3 separate regions of the Homo sapiens genome follow, and regions 1 and 3 are each linked to region 2. Evidence: promoter capture Hi-C in human tissues and cell types (Jung and others, 2019). All regions are on one chromosome and are shown on one strand. The core of a region is centred on a gene start or on the middle of the fragment in contact, and the rest is flanking DNA. Distances in the headings are between cores, read along the strand shown.

What was found. Contacts are between HindIII fragments. The study calls those that stand out against the background at their distance.
Region 1: a contact is called between a fragment that was not itself captured here and the fragment with the promoter of MRPL14 in region 2, in 2 of the 25 tissues and cell types used here (lymphoblastoid cells and spleen).
Region 3: a contact is called between a fragment that was not itself captured here and the fragment with the promoter of MRPL14 in region 2, in 2 of the 25 tissues and cell types used here (IMR-90 fibroblasts and mesendoderm cells).

What each region holds. Positions count from the first base shown.
Region 1 is chr6:43,789,813-43,793,654 of GRCh38, forward strand. No RefSeq gene overlaps it. Among named protein-coding and RNA genes, the nearest start is that of VEGFA, 22 kb to the left of the region's middle. The HindIII fragment of the contact is 5,264 bases long and covers 1-3,842 here.
Region 2 is chr6:44,125,347-44,128,917 of GRCh38, forward strand. MRPL14 (mitochondrial ribosomal protein L14) reads right to left here and starts at 2,106. Exons shown (of 3, transcript NM_032111.4): 1 at 1,998-2,106. TMEM63B (transmembrane protein 63B) reads left to right here and starts at 2,208. Exons shown (of 24, transcript NM_018426.3): 1 at 2,208-2,332. RefSeq lists silencers at 1,839-1,898, 1,929-1,978, 1,999-2,398, 2,439-2,548, 2,729-2,888. The HindIII fragment of the contact is 18,233 bases long and covers 1-3,571 here.
Region 3 is chr6:43,839,007-43,842,697 of GRCh38, forward strand. LOC105375070 (a long non-coding RNA gene) reads left to right here. Exons shown (of 3, transcript XR_007059588.1): 2 at 3,505-3,627. Among named protein-coding and RNA genes, the nearest start is that of LINC02537, 11 kb to the right of the region's middle. The HindIII fragment of the contact is 4,197 bases long and covers 1-3,691 here.

The DNA.
Region 1 (3,842 bases), core at 1,310-3,809, 340 kb before region 2:
GTACCGTCTCCTCTTAGCCACCCTGGGGATGGGGCTCATTATTATTGCTTGGCAGATGAGAAGCAGGAGGCTCAGAGAAGGTAAATAACTTGCCCGAATTTACACGCAGCCAGTAAATGGCCAAGCCAGAATTTAAACCAGCTTTTCTGACTCCAAATCTAGTGCTCTTTTTACCACACCACAGCTGCCTCAGGCTAGGGCAGGACATCAACAAATAAAAATGAATCGTCTAGACTCAATACAAACAGGGAAGAAGAAAAGTGGGACAGGGGGAGGATGTAGTGCTGGCCAAACCCAGGGCTGAAATCCAGACTTCCCCAAGTGTGGTAAGGCAAGGCAAGGCAAGCAAGAGATGTCTCCAGGGGCTGGGGCTCGTCAGTGGAAGATCGGAAACCTAAGCATGCAAGAGATTGCAACACACGGCCTTAGATGAGAGAAACAGCCTTGAAACAGACCACGGAGAAAAGAAGGAGAACATGAAAATGCCACCTCCCCCAGTTGTATAAGACCTGCCCAGATACCCCCCTGGAGCCATTCCCAAGGATCTCTCCAGACCTAAGCAAGTCCCAGGGCCTACCCTGCCTTCCCAGATCATCTCCTCTCTGTGGGACTCACACCGCCTGGTCTAGCCACTGTTTCCTCTGGAGCTACCCAGTGCTCCTTCTCCTCTGTCTAGCCTGAGACTCTCCCTTCTCCAAGGAGCTGCCCATCCTGCTCCCGGCCCTGAAAGGCCTTTAGAGAGCCTGCTGGCCCACTCTCCTCCCTCCCACAAGAACTGAAAGGCTGACGGGTGGATCCATACAAAACTTGGTGATTCTGGATCAATTTCGTGTGTTAGGATCATTGTGGTGGCCAGTGTGCAAACATGGCTGTCAACAGTTCTTTCCATCCCTGTGCCCACGTGCTTTGCCCCCCAAGAAGTAGAGTCTATTTTTCCTCTTTTTGAATCTGGGCCGGCTTTATGACTTGCTTTGAATAAAAATGCAACACAAGAGAGATATTCTGGGACTTTCAGGTCTAGGCATTGTAGTGTCAATTTTTGTCCTCTTGTAAGGCAGCTGCCAGGCTATAACTGTCCAAATACTCTACTGGAGAGAGAGACTGTGGAGAGACAGAGAGAGATAGGGGAAGAGAAACAGAGAGATAGAGGAAGAGAGAGACAGAGATGGAGAGAGAGAGAGAGGCTCAGCCAACTCCCAGCTGTTCCAACCACCTGAAGCTGAGGCACCAGACATGTGAGTGAAGTCACTTTGGATTCCCTAGCGCCAGGTGAGCCACTCTAGCCAACAACACATAAAGTAGAGAGAAGCCATCCCTGCCCCAGTTTAGTGAGTTGTAAGCAAATGTATGCACTGTGTTGTTTAAAGCTACTAAGTTTTGGGGTGGTTATTATTCCTCAATAATAACTGAGCCATCTAACAAAACAGTCATTTCCTTGGCATTAGGGTGTTTGTCCCTTCCCATCCATAAGGTTTAACTGGTATTCATGAAGTGGATGGAGGGATGTTCAAGGAAAGAAGGGTGTGTTTATAAGGGAATCAGAGACCAGGCATCTGCCATGGTGGTAAGTTTGGTGAGAAGTCAGGGTAAGGGCTGACCCAGGCAGGACAAAATATTGTCCTAATTTCTAGAGTGAGGAGAGTGACTTGGTTGTACTGGAGTCTTACCAAGAGAAAGTGGGCCTCACCTACAGCATGGGGGATAGAGGATAGAGGATGAGAAGAACTGCCAGAGAGCACAGCATGAGGGATTTGGAGGAAAAGACTGTGGAATCCTTTTCTTCCCTTCTTCCTTCCATCCTCCAGCGTTTATGGAATACCAGCCATATGTACTATGCCCTGGTGCAGGGATGGTCTCTCATTTACTAGGAGGGGCTTTAGCATGAGCCAGCCTAGAGGTGGGGGATGGATGGGCTGACCCTTGGAAGGCTCCATCAGGTTGGCTTCAGAGTTGCTGGGAGAGAGATAATTCAGCTACATCCGCAGGACATTGTCCATTAGGACATGGGACTAGGGGAGGGCAGGGAAGGAATCAGTAAATATTTATAATCTGCCTAGAAAAGGAAAATGCAAGGCAAAGACAGGGCTTGACTGAGCATCTGCTGAGAAGGAACAGAAGGGGTGACGTGGAAGGGGAAGAGCTAGAACCCAGGGAGCAGTGAGTCAGAGGAAAGGGCCCACTAGGCACAGGTGCCTATGGTGCAAGGCTGGGCTTGAGTCTCCCAGGACAAGAGGGGGCCGGGATCTGACAAAGATTTTCAAAGGCTGCGTTTGCCTTTGGGGAGTTAGTCTCTCTATGAGGGAAGTGCAAGTACTGCTCCCAGGGAGCTCCCAGTCTCAAGGAGGATTGACATGGCCCTGGCCCTCAGGATGCTCCCGGTCCTTACAGAGTATCTAATCTGAGGGAGGAGACAGAGCTTCTGCCATCAGACATTTCTTTGGATACTAGTTTCGGGAAGGCACCACCCTGCCACCATTTGGCTGTTGCACTGTTCGGAGTCACCGGATGCTGGTACCCCATCCTTCCCTCCACTCTCGGTGCGCATTCACAATGCTCACAGGGCTTCTCTTGTGTTTGTCATCAGCCATGCGTGGCTCACCAGCCTGGGCCCTGATTTTCTCCACACATCCCCTGACGGTCCCTGGGTCTGGCTCCAAGTGGAGCAGATGCTAGCACATGTCCCTTTCCTGGGCTTCTCCTGTCTCCTCTCCTGGAGAGGCCTGAGAACCCTGTTCATCAGCTCCTCAGACTTCCTGCAGGAAGACTGTTCCCCTACTCCCTGTCTGTAGCTCATCCAGCTGTCCTGGGGCTGGAAGCTTCTGAGGAGGTGATGCCCTGTGAGGCCCGGCCATAGGGACCTCTCTTTGGATGCCTCTGCAGAGCCTAATCTGGGCCGCCCTAAGTCCCATCAAGACTTCTGACAGATCTAGATTGGAATCCTGGGTCTGCCACTGGAGAAATTACTTGCCTGCACCTCAACTTTCTCATCTAAAATGGGCACAGTAACACCTACATGATGGAGTTTGAGGGCCTGAAGTGACATTGACATGTAAAAGTACCTCATGAAGTGACTGGTACATAGGATGTCCTAAAAAAAAAAGTCATTATCATCTTGTTGTTATTCTAGTCTCCATGCCAATGCTTTTTCCTCTCTGAGTGCCCCCTTTAGTACATTTTGGTTGTTTGTGGGGCTTTTTTCCCACTTTTTAAAAAAACCTGAAATGGTCTGGCTGGATTTTATAACCATTTTTGCAAGCATGCATCCTTACTCTCCTGCTGAGGAGTGAGGCACGCCAGGGCAGGTTCAGCCCTGGAGCCCAGCAGTGAGAGAAAGGGATTGGACTGAAGGGAAAAGAGGGTGTGGAGAGCCCTTCCTGGTAGGGATGATGCCCTGTGGCTTTGAACCCAGGACCAGGTACAAGGTGGGCTTGCATGAGTATTTGTAGAATTAATGAACAAATGAACAGGAGCAGAATGCATGGCCAATCTTCTCTTAGGTCCCCCAAACACACTGGGAACCTCCAGTCTGATGGAGGAGGCCGGATGTCCACCCTTATACACACAGCTGTGCTCTGGGCAAGAAATGCTGAGGCTGGGCAGGGCTGCTTGGGCCAGGCTGCAGTGGACGGATGCCCCCAGGGCTGTCTTCAGAAGCTCCCTCAAGGTGGAAACCTGTCTGTTCCAGGATGTTTAGGTGAAATGATTTGTGGTATAGGTATGGAAGGGCCTCTGGGACCCAGGCAGGGGAGAAGCCCTTCCCTGGGACTTTGGAGAGCTGGGAGCTGCCATCTCCTGGGGAGGCCACAAGAGGATGTCTTCTGGGGAAATATTCAGGGAGGGTG
Region 2 (3,571 bases), core at 856-3,355:
AATAAAAACATATAAAAAATGCCTTCTGGCTGGACAAGGTGGCTCACGCCTGTAATCCCAGCACTTTGAGAGGCTGAGTTGCGTAGATCGATTGAGGTCAGGGGCTGGAGACCAGCCTGGGCAACATGGTGAAACCCTATCTCTACTAAAAATACAAAAATTAGCCAGGAGTGGTGGCTCGCGCCTGCAGTCCCAGCTACTCGGGAGGCTGAGGCATAAGAATTGCTAGATCCCAGGAGAAGCTGCAGTGAGCTGAGATCGCACTGCTGCACCCAGATCTCCCCAGCCTGGGCAAGAGAGACTGTCTCAAAAAAAAAAAAAAAAAAAAAAAAAAAGGCCTTCTAGTGATCCTCAGAAATCCAAAAACCAGACAACTATGGCTTCCACTTCCATTTTTCAGATATCCATTATAATACTATTTGACCTCAAAGTGAATTTTATTGTTCCACACAAGCAACAGATTACACCAATTTCACAACTCCCAGAATCCAAACCTACAAAGACCCTTCCCACCAAGCACTTTACCAAAAACGGGCTTCATCTCCATCTTCCTTTCTTTCACAGTTGAAAAACTGCCCTTCCTAATTAAGCCAACCAACTTCTTACCTCAATAAAATCCTTGTTTTTCAGTAGCACGTACAGTATTTCCAGTGATGAACAGTGAACTGTCTTTCGTCTCACACAGTAACCTCCGTGAAGAAGATCCACCTTGTTCTTTACTGTATATTCCTGGCATGCTAACTGCATCCTCAGACAATTTTAAGTGACTGAAAACTCAGGCAAAGAAAGGCAAGAGGGCAAATAGAAGGGCACAGGAGACAACGCTTTTCAAATTTTTCTCACTGCGACCTACAGAAACACACTGTAGAACACCTCCTAGTACACTCACACGTGTGTGTACACCTGAAGTGTCAAGAAACAATACCCTAAGTGCAACACCCTCTGATATTTTCTATTTCAAGTGGCCGTGATCTACTAAACTGATTTCCAACTCACCAATAGGATTCAGTTTGAAAAACACTGCAATAAATCAAACCTTACAGTTGCATTCCACAAGCTACTAATGAACTCTTGAAAATCCAGCATACAGCAGAGACGCTGACCAACTACAAGATCCAAACCCCCCAGGTGGGCAGTGTCCTTCTGTTCAGCAGTGGCAGTTCCCCACCACCACCAGCCCTGAGAGTTAATTATCTCCCAAACTCCCAGAGTTTCCCAAGTAGCCTGAGGTGTCTGTCATATGCCCTTTTAACCTCTTTATAAATTCAGTCCCGTCCGTCTCTTACGGTGGCAAAGTTCATTTATCGTCGGCTGTGGAAAGCAATACTTCCTTTTTGTCCCCTCCAGGAACCAGAAATTAAATGACCAGGTTGGTGCCCGTTGTGCCTTTATGATCTATTTGTGTGGGTGATATATAGAAAGAGTCTCAGTCTCTCCCTTCATCTTTCCAGTCTTAATCACTGGTAGATGCAGTCTCTGGTGAAATAAGAAACCAGGGAACCCCCTGGCCTGGGGGAGGGCGCACTCATCAGCGTTGACAGAGTGAAAGCAAAAACTCAATCCTCACACCACAGAGGCGTCTGGCTAACTCATCTCCAGACCTAAGTTGGGAAAGGGGAGGGGAGCGCGGAAAGCGGAGAAGCCGGAGGAGACGCTCCGGAGTGACCAGCGACGGCTGAACGCAGCCCGCCCTCCCCAAGTCGACGCCGCAACCCGGGGAAAGCAGGTGAGCGCCGGCCACGGACTTGGGGGTCGCAGAAGCAGCCCACGGAGAGCGGAAGGGAGGAGGATCCGGGTAAGGGGCCTCCCCTCCCCGTCGGGACCCCCCTCCCCGTCGGGACCCCCCCCTCCCCGTCGGGACCCCTCCCACTGACGCTCTGCCTCCCACTCTGGCCTCTCCTCACTCACCCCGGGGAGTGGGCCTCCCCTACTGCAGAGAAAGGAAGAGGAGAAGGAGGGAATGAGGACTTAACGCCCACCCCTGCCCCCCACCATACCGCTCTCGCCGCCCGGGAAAATCCCGCCGCGGGCCCCACCAGCCAAGCGCCGCCTTCGCCCCACGCGGCCTCTTCCTAGCGCCTGCGCGCCAGGCCCAGCCCGGCGGACGCGATCTGAGAGTGCGCGCGCACCTTGCGTGCGCCGGCGTGCGGGGCGGGACCTGCGGGGCTCCGCCCCCTCCCCCTCCCTCCCCCCGCTCCCCCTCCCCCATACACTGCCGCGGCCGCCGCAGGAGCCCGGAGCTCGAGCCGCCCAGCGACTCCCCCTCCCCCTCCCCCAGCCCCGCCCCGCCCCAACCCGGGGCTCCGAGCCGGAGCCGAGTCTGCGCCTGGGGGTGAGTACGCGACCCCTACCCAGCCCTCGCTCTTTTCTTCGAAGATCCCACCACCACCCAAAGAAAAAACCTGGACTCAGCTGCGCGTCCCCTCCCTTCAACCTCCTGCGGGACCCAGAGGTGCCCGGGCCCGCGGGACCCAGGGGTGGCGCGCGCTGCCCCCAACCCCGCACCATCCCGAGCCAAATGTGAGTCCTCCAACCCCTGCCGGAGGTCCAGATACGCGCCGCCGGCTCTCCCCAGCCCCGGGGAGATCCCAAAGGGTGGGACCCCCGCCCCCGGCCCCCGAGTGCCACTCTTCTCCCACCTGCCCGGTGCAGGTGCGCGTCCCCTGCGCGACCCTCGGGGGTGCCAGCTGCGCCCCGCCTGTCCGCCGCCGTTTGGGGAACTAGCCGCCCCCGCCCCCGAGTTTTGGACCCCGGGGTCGCCAAGTCCGATGCCTTCTGTGCCTTTTATTTTTTCTGCTGCTCCCGGGGGCGAGTACACCCGAAGCCGGTCCGGGGTAAGGGCTCGGGCTCGGGCAAGGGCAGGGTTCGCAGGTGCTGGCACGAGGCCGGCCGCTGCCCCCGGCTCTGGGGACTGACTGGTCGGCGGGCTGGAGAGGCGGCCGGCCCCGGGAGCGTGTCCTCTCCTTGCGCCCCACACAGTGCAGTTCATTCATGAGCCGCCCGGGCCTGCGTTGGAGGGTGCGGTGGGGAAAAGATTCAGACGCGAAACCGAGAGTGGGGCAAAGGCCCTGTTGTGGGGAGGGGGCGCCGCTTTGTCCCTCCTGGCTGTCTTGACCGCCTAAGGCGGACAGTCCCAAAGCTTGGCACCTTGTTCCCCAGAAAAGGAAAGGACGCTTGGGAAGTGGGGAGGAGAGGTCAGAGGGGCTGGCTGCCCTTGGGGCGCTGTGCTGCCCCCTGCCTGGGTCCCCTGGGCAGAGGTCTGGCCGCTCGGGGCAAGCCTGAGCACTCCACCGCCCTGGGGGGCTGGGGCTTGCCTACCCATTACCAGTCTGCAGCAGCCGGGGAGCAATGAGGCTGTGCCCAACACCTGCTGAAGAGGGGCCCATCCTGCCTCCCAGGCCAGGGTGAGGTGGGGAGTGGGAGTGTCAGCCAGGCTTCAAGTGGGGGTGTGCTGGCAGCGTGATTGTCCTCCAGGGCACCAGAGGGTCCAGGCCTTGGCATGCCCCAGGTGGCACATGCTGGGGCCTGCTGTTGGCTCACTCAGTGCAGTCTTGGCCTGTGGGTGGATGGG
Region 3 (3,691 bases), core at 825-3,324, 290 kb before region 2:
AACCAAAAGGGAGGGTGGGAGGAGGGGACAGTGCCCAGTCGCTTGTTCTCTAAGGTTCCTGACTTGAGGAGCCCCAGTCTGAGGGGGAGACATAGCCCTGCCCTCAGGGAACCCCAGAGATCCCTGATGAGGGCGGGAGCAGGAAGGAAAAACACACGAGTGGAACAGACCTGATGAACCCTGCAAAGCGCCAGAAAAGCCAGAGCAGATGATTTTAGGACAGCAGGGCCCCAGGGGCTGTGCTGGGAACGGGGCAAGTGACTGGCACTGGGATTGAGTGGCTGCTAGTGCTCAGGGGAGGCAATGCCTTTAATGATGGCAGGGGACCTGTCCCCTGTCCTCCATGTGTGTATACCTGGGTTTTTCCCCAGCACCTGGTTCACAGGATGAGAGGCCTCAGTCCATCTCAGACACTAAGCCCCATGGCACCAGGGCCTGGGCAGGTAATAAAAGAGACTCAGCAGGACTGGGAGGGCTTGCTGGCATTGTTCGGACACTTGGCATGCATCTGTTTCTTTCCTCTCTGCTGTGGTCCTCACTGGCAGCTGGGTGGAGAGAGAACCCACTTGGGAGGCAAGAGCCCTGTGGGCCACCTCAGCCCTGTCTCTGCCCTACCCCACCCCTGAGCGAGGCACAGCTGCCTCTGGCCTTACTTATGGTTCTGGAAGCTTCCTTGGGCCCCTTCTCTAAGACCCTTGGCTCAGGCACATCCTTCTGGGTTGGGAGGCGTCTCTTCCAGAAGGTGGGTGAGTTTGAAGATAGACTTCATGAAAATGCTATGCAATTGGCTTGCTTCTGAGAGATTTGAACAGCTAGCATTTTAACAATCTCCCAGAATTTATGAAGTAGAAAATACTTGTTTAGCATTGTCTTATTTTTAAATAATTAATTTTAGTTCAGGCGTGGAGGCTCACACCTATAATCCCAGCACTTTGGGAGGCCGAAGCAGGCAGACTGCTTGAGGTCAGGAGTTTGAGACCAGCCTGGCCAACATGGTGAAACCCCATCTCTACTAAAAATACAAAAATTTTCTGGGAGTGTTGGCAGGCGCCTGTAATCCCAGCTACTGGGGAGGCTGAGGCATGAGAATAGCTTGAACCTGAGAGGCGGAGGTTGCTGTGAGCCGAGATCGCACCACTGCACTCCAGCCTGGGCGACAGAGTGAGACCTTATTTCCAAAAAATAAATAAATGAAATAAATAAGAGATACTATATGGACACAGTGAAAAATGCAAGCGCAATAAGAATTAGGGAACCTAGGTGAAGGACATCAGCAGTTCTTATTTTTGCAACTTTTCTGTATGCTTAAAAAAATAAAAAAGTAAAATAAATAAGAAGTTAAAAACAAATTCAGACAGAAGTGTAAGCCTCTCTTCTAACCTTTCTTCTAGCCACTTACTCAGTCCTTCTCTTGGAGGCCCCTGAGTTACCAGTTTCCTGTGTATCCTTCTAAAGGTAGTCTAAAACATATACATTTATAAACTGTTTTCCTCCCACATGAATGATGACTTTTCTCCACACCGTTCTGCAACTTTTTTCTCTCACTTAACAATAATCTGGAGACCATTTGGTGTGAGTGCACAGATAGCTGGCTCATTCTTTTTCTTCACTCCAGTTTATTCTACCAAACAGATGTTTCAAATGTTTATTTGGAAGAGATTGTATAATAAGGTGGTTAAGAGCATAGTCTTTGGAGGCAGAATGCTCTCGTTCAAGCCAGTTGTTTAATGTTGAGCCAGTTACTCAATGTCTGAGTGACTCAGTTTCCTCATTTGTGATCCAAAGATAACAGCATCATCTACCTTGAAGCATTTTGTGGAGATTCAATAAGATAAAGCTTGTAAATGGCTTAGGACAGTGCCTGGTGTGCAGTAAGCACTCAATAAGTGTTCGCTGCTCCTCCTGAGGTTATTTTGCCAGACCCTTTTTGAGAGAGCTGGGCTGTTTCCAGACTTTTATTATTATAAACAATGCTGCAAACAAATAGCCTTCCCCACACGTCATTTGCTCCTTGTGGGAGTGCATCAACAGGAAAAATTCCAGGGAGTAGAATTGCTGGGTCAAAGACCGTGTGCATTTTTAATTTTGAAAGATATCATCAGGTTGTCCCCCTTAAGGGGTGGTCCCAGTCACTGGGCCACCAGCTGAGTTTGAGCCTGTTTCCTCAGCCTCACCAACAGAGTGTGTGTTTCATTTGAACATATCATTTCTCAAATTTGTTTGGGCAGAGAAGTCTGTTATGGAGTTTCTTGGGGGATCATTTGGCCTTCAAGCCCCTCTCCCCTATACCTGCCTGAGTCTGTCAAGGAGTTTGTTGGGAGAAGCCAGCCCACCATATGGTCTAGACTGGTCTACAGCCAGCAAAAGGCTCCTGAAAGTCTCTGCTAAGGTCAGCTGCATATTCCTTCAATATGTTGATTCAGGCAGGGTGCGGTGGCTCACGCTTGTAATCCCAGCACCTTGGGAGGCCGAGGCAGGTGGATCACCTGAAGTTGGGAGTTCGAGACCACCCTGGCTAACATGGAGAAACCCCATCTCTACTAAAAATACAAAAATTAGCCAGGCGTGGTGGTGCATGCCTGTAATTCCAGCTACTTGGGAGGTGGAGGCAGGAAAATCGCTTGAACCTGGGAGGTGGAGGTGGCGGTGAGCCGAGATCACGCCATTGTACTCCAGCCTGGGCAACAAGAGTGAAGCTCCATCCCCACCCCATCCCTGACCAAAAAAAAAAAAGATACAACAATATGTTGATTCAATATTACGGTGCTCACAAGTTTATACGTTGTTGGTGGCAGTCTCTTCTGGGGCCTGTTAGCATATTAAAACTATTGGTTAAATCTGATAATGCTTTAGGTTGTGCTTGTTTTTCACCATTTCATTCCTGAGCCAGGGGTTTGCAATTTCTAATCACATTTTTAACATTTTCTCACTCCTACAAAGGCACACAGACAATGCCAGTACTCAATTTGCTGTAATCATGGAAAGCCTGACTGCTCTACCTGGAATTAGACTTCCTGCTATGGATAACCTGTAAACCAACCTCCCTGCCTTCCCTTCGTGGAAAATTGAAGTTGATTATTAAAAAAAAAAAAAAAAAAAAGGTAGACTCTGTATTAAGAGGCCCTGTCATCTGAAAATGGAAACCTCACCAACACAAAATATATCAAAAGGATGAGTATTCTTTTTACAAAAAGAGTTCCTACTGAGTTAATTTTAGTGGATTTTTAGTAAAGCCTTTTTAGACAACTATAACAAGGCAGAGAGGACTGTTTGAAGGCGGCAGCTTTGAGCAGGAGAGCAGGCCTGATGTGTCTCACCAATTCTTAACTTCTGTTCACCCGCAGCTTGCTCACCCCTGATCTCATGCAGGACCGGGCTGGAATGATCCTTTGTGATTCATTCTGATTTAGGGTGGCAGCCAAACTTTCTAGGACTTTTGCGGGCTCTGTGGGCTATCCTGCATCAAAGGCTCCAATGCCTCTTTCCTCTCCTCTGACCTTGCAGATCTGACAAATGCCAAGGACTTTGCCTACGCTGGATGTGTAGCCGAAGACTGTCCCAGGCTGCTCAGAGGGGCGGAAGCAAACTCGCTGCATCTCCAGAAGCCCCTCAGAGGTCAGGTTTAAGGTGAGGGTGTCCTTGAGTGAAGGTCAAATAGGTTTCTTTTCTCCTCTCTTTTTTGAGACAGGGT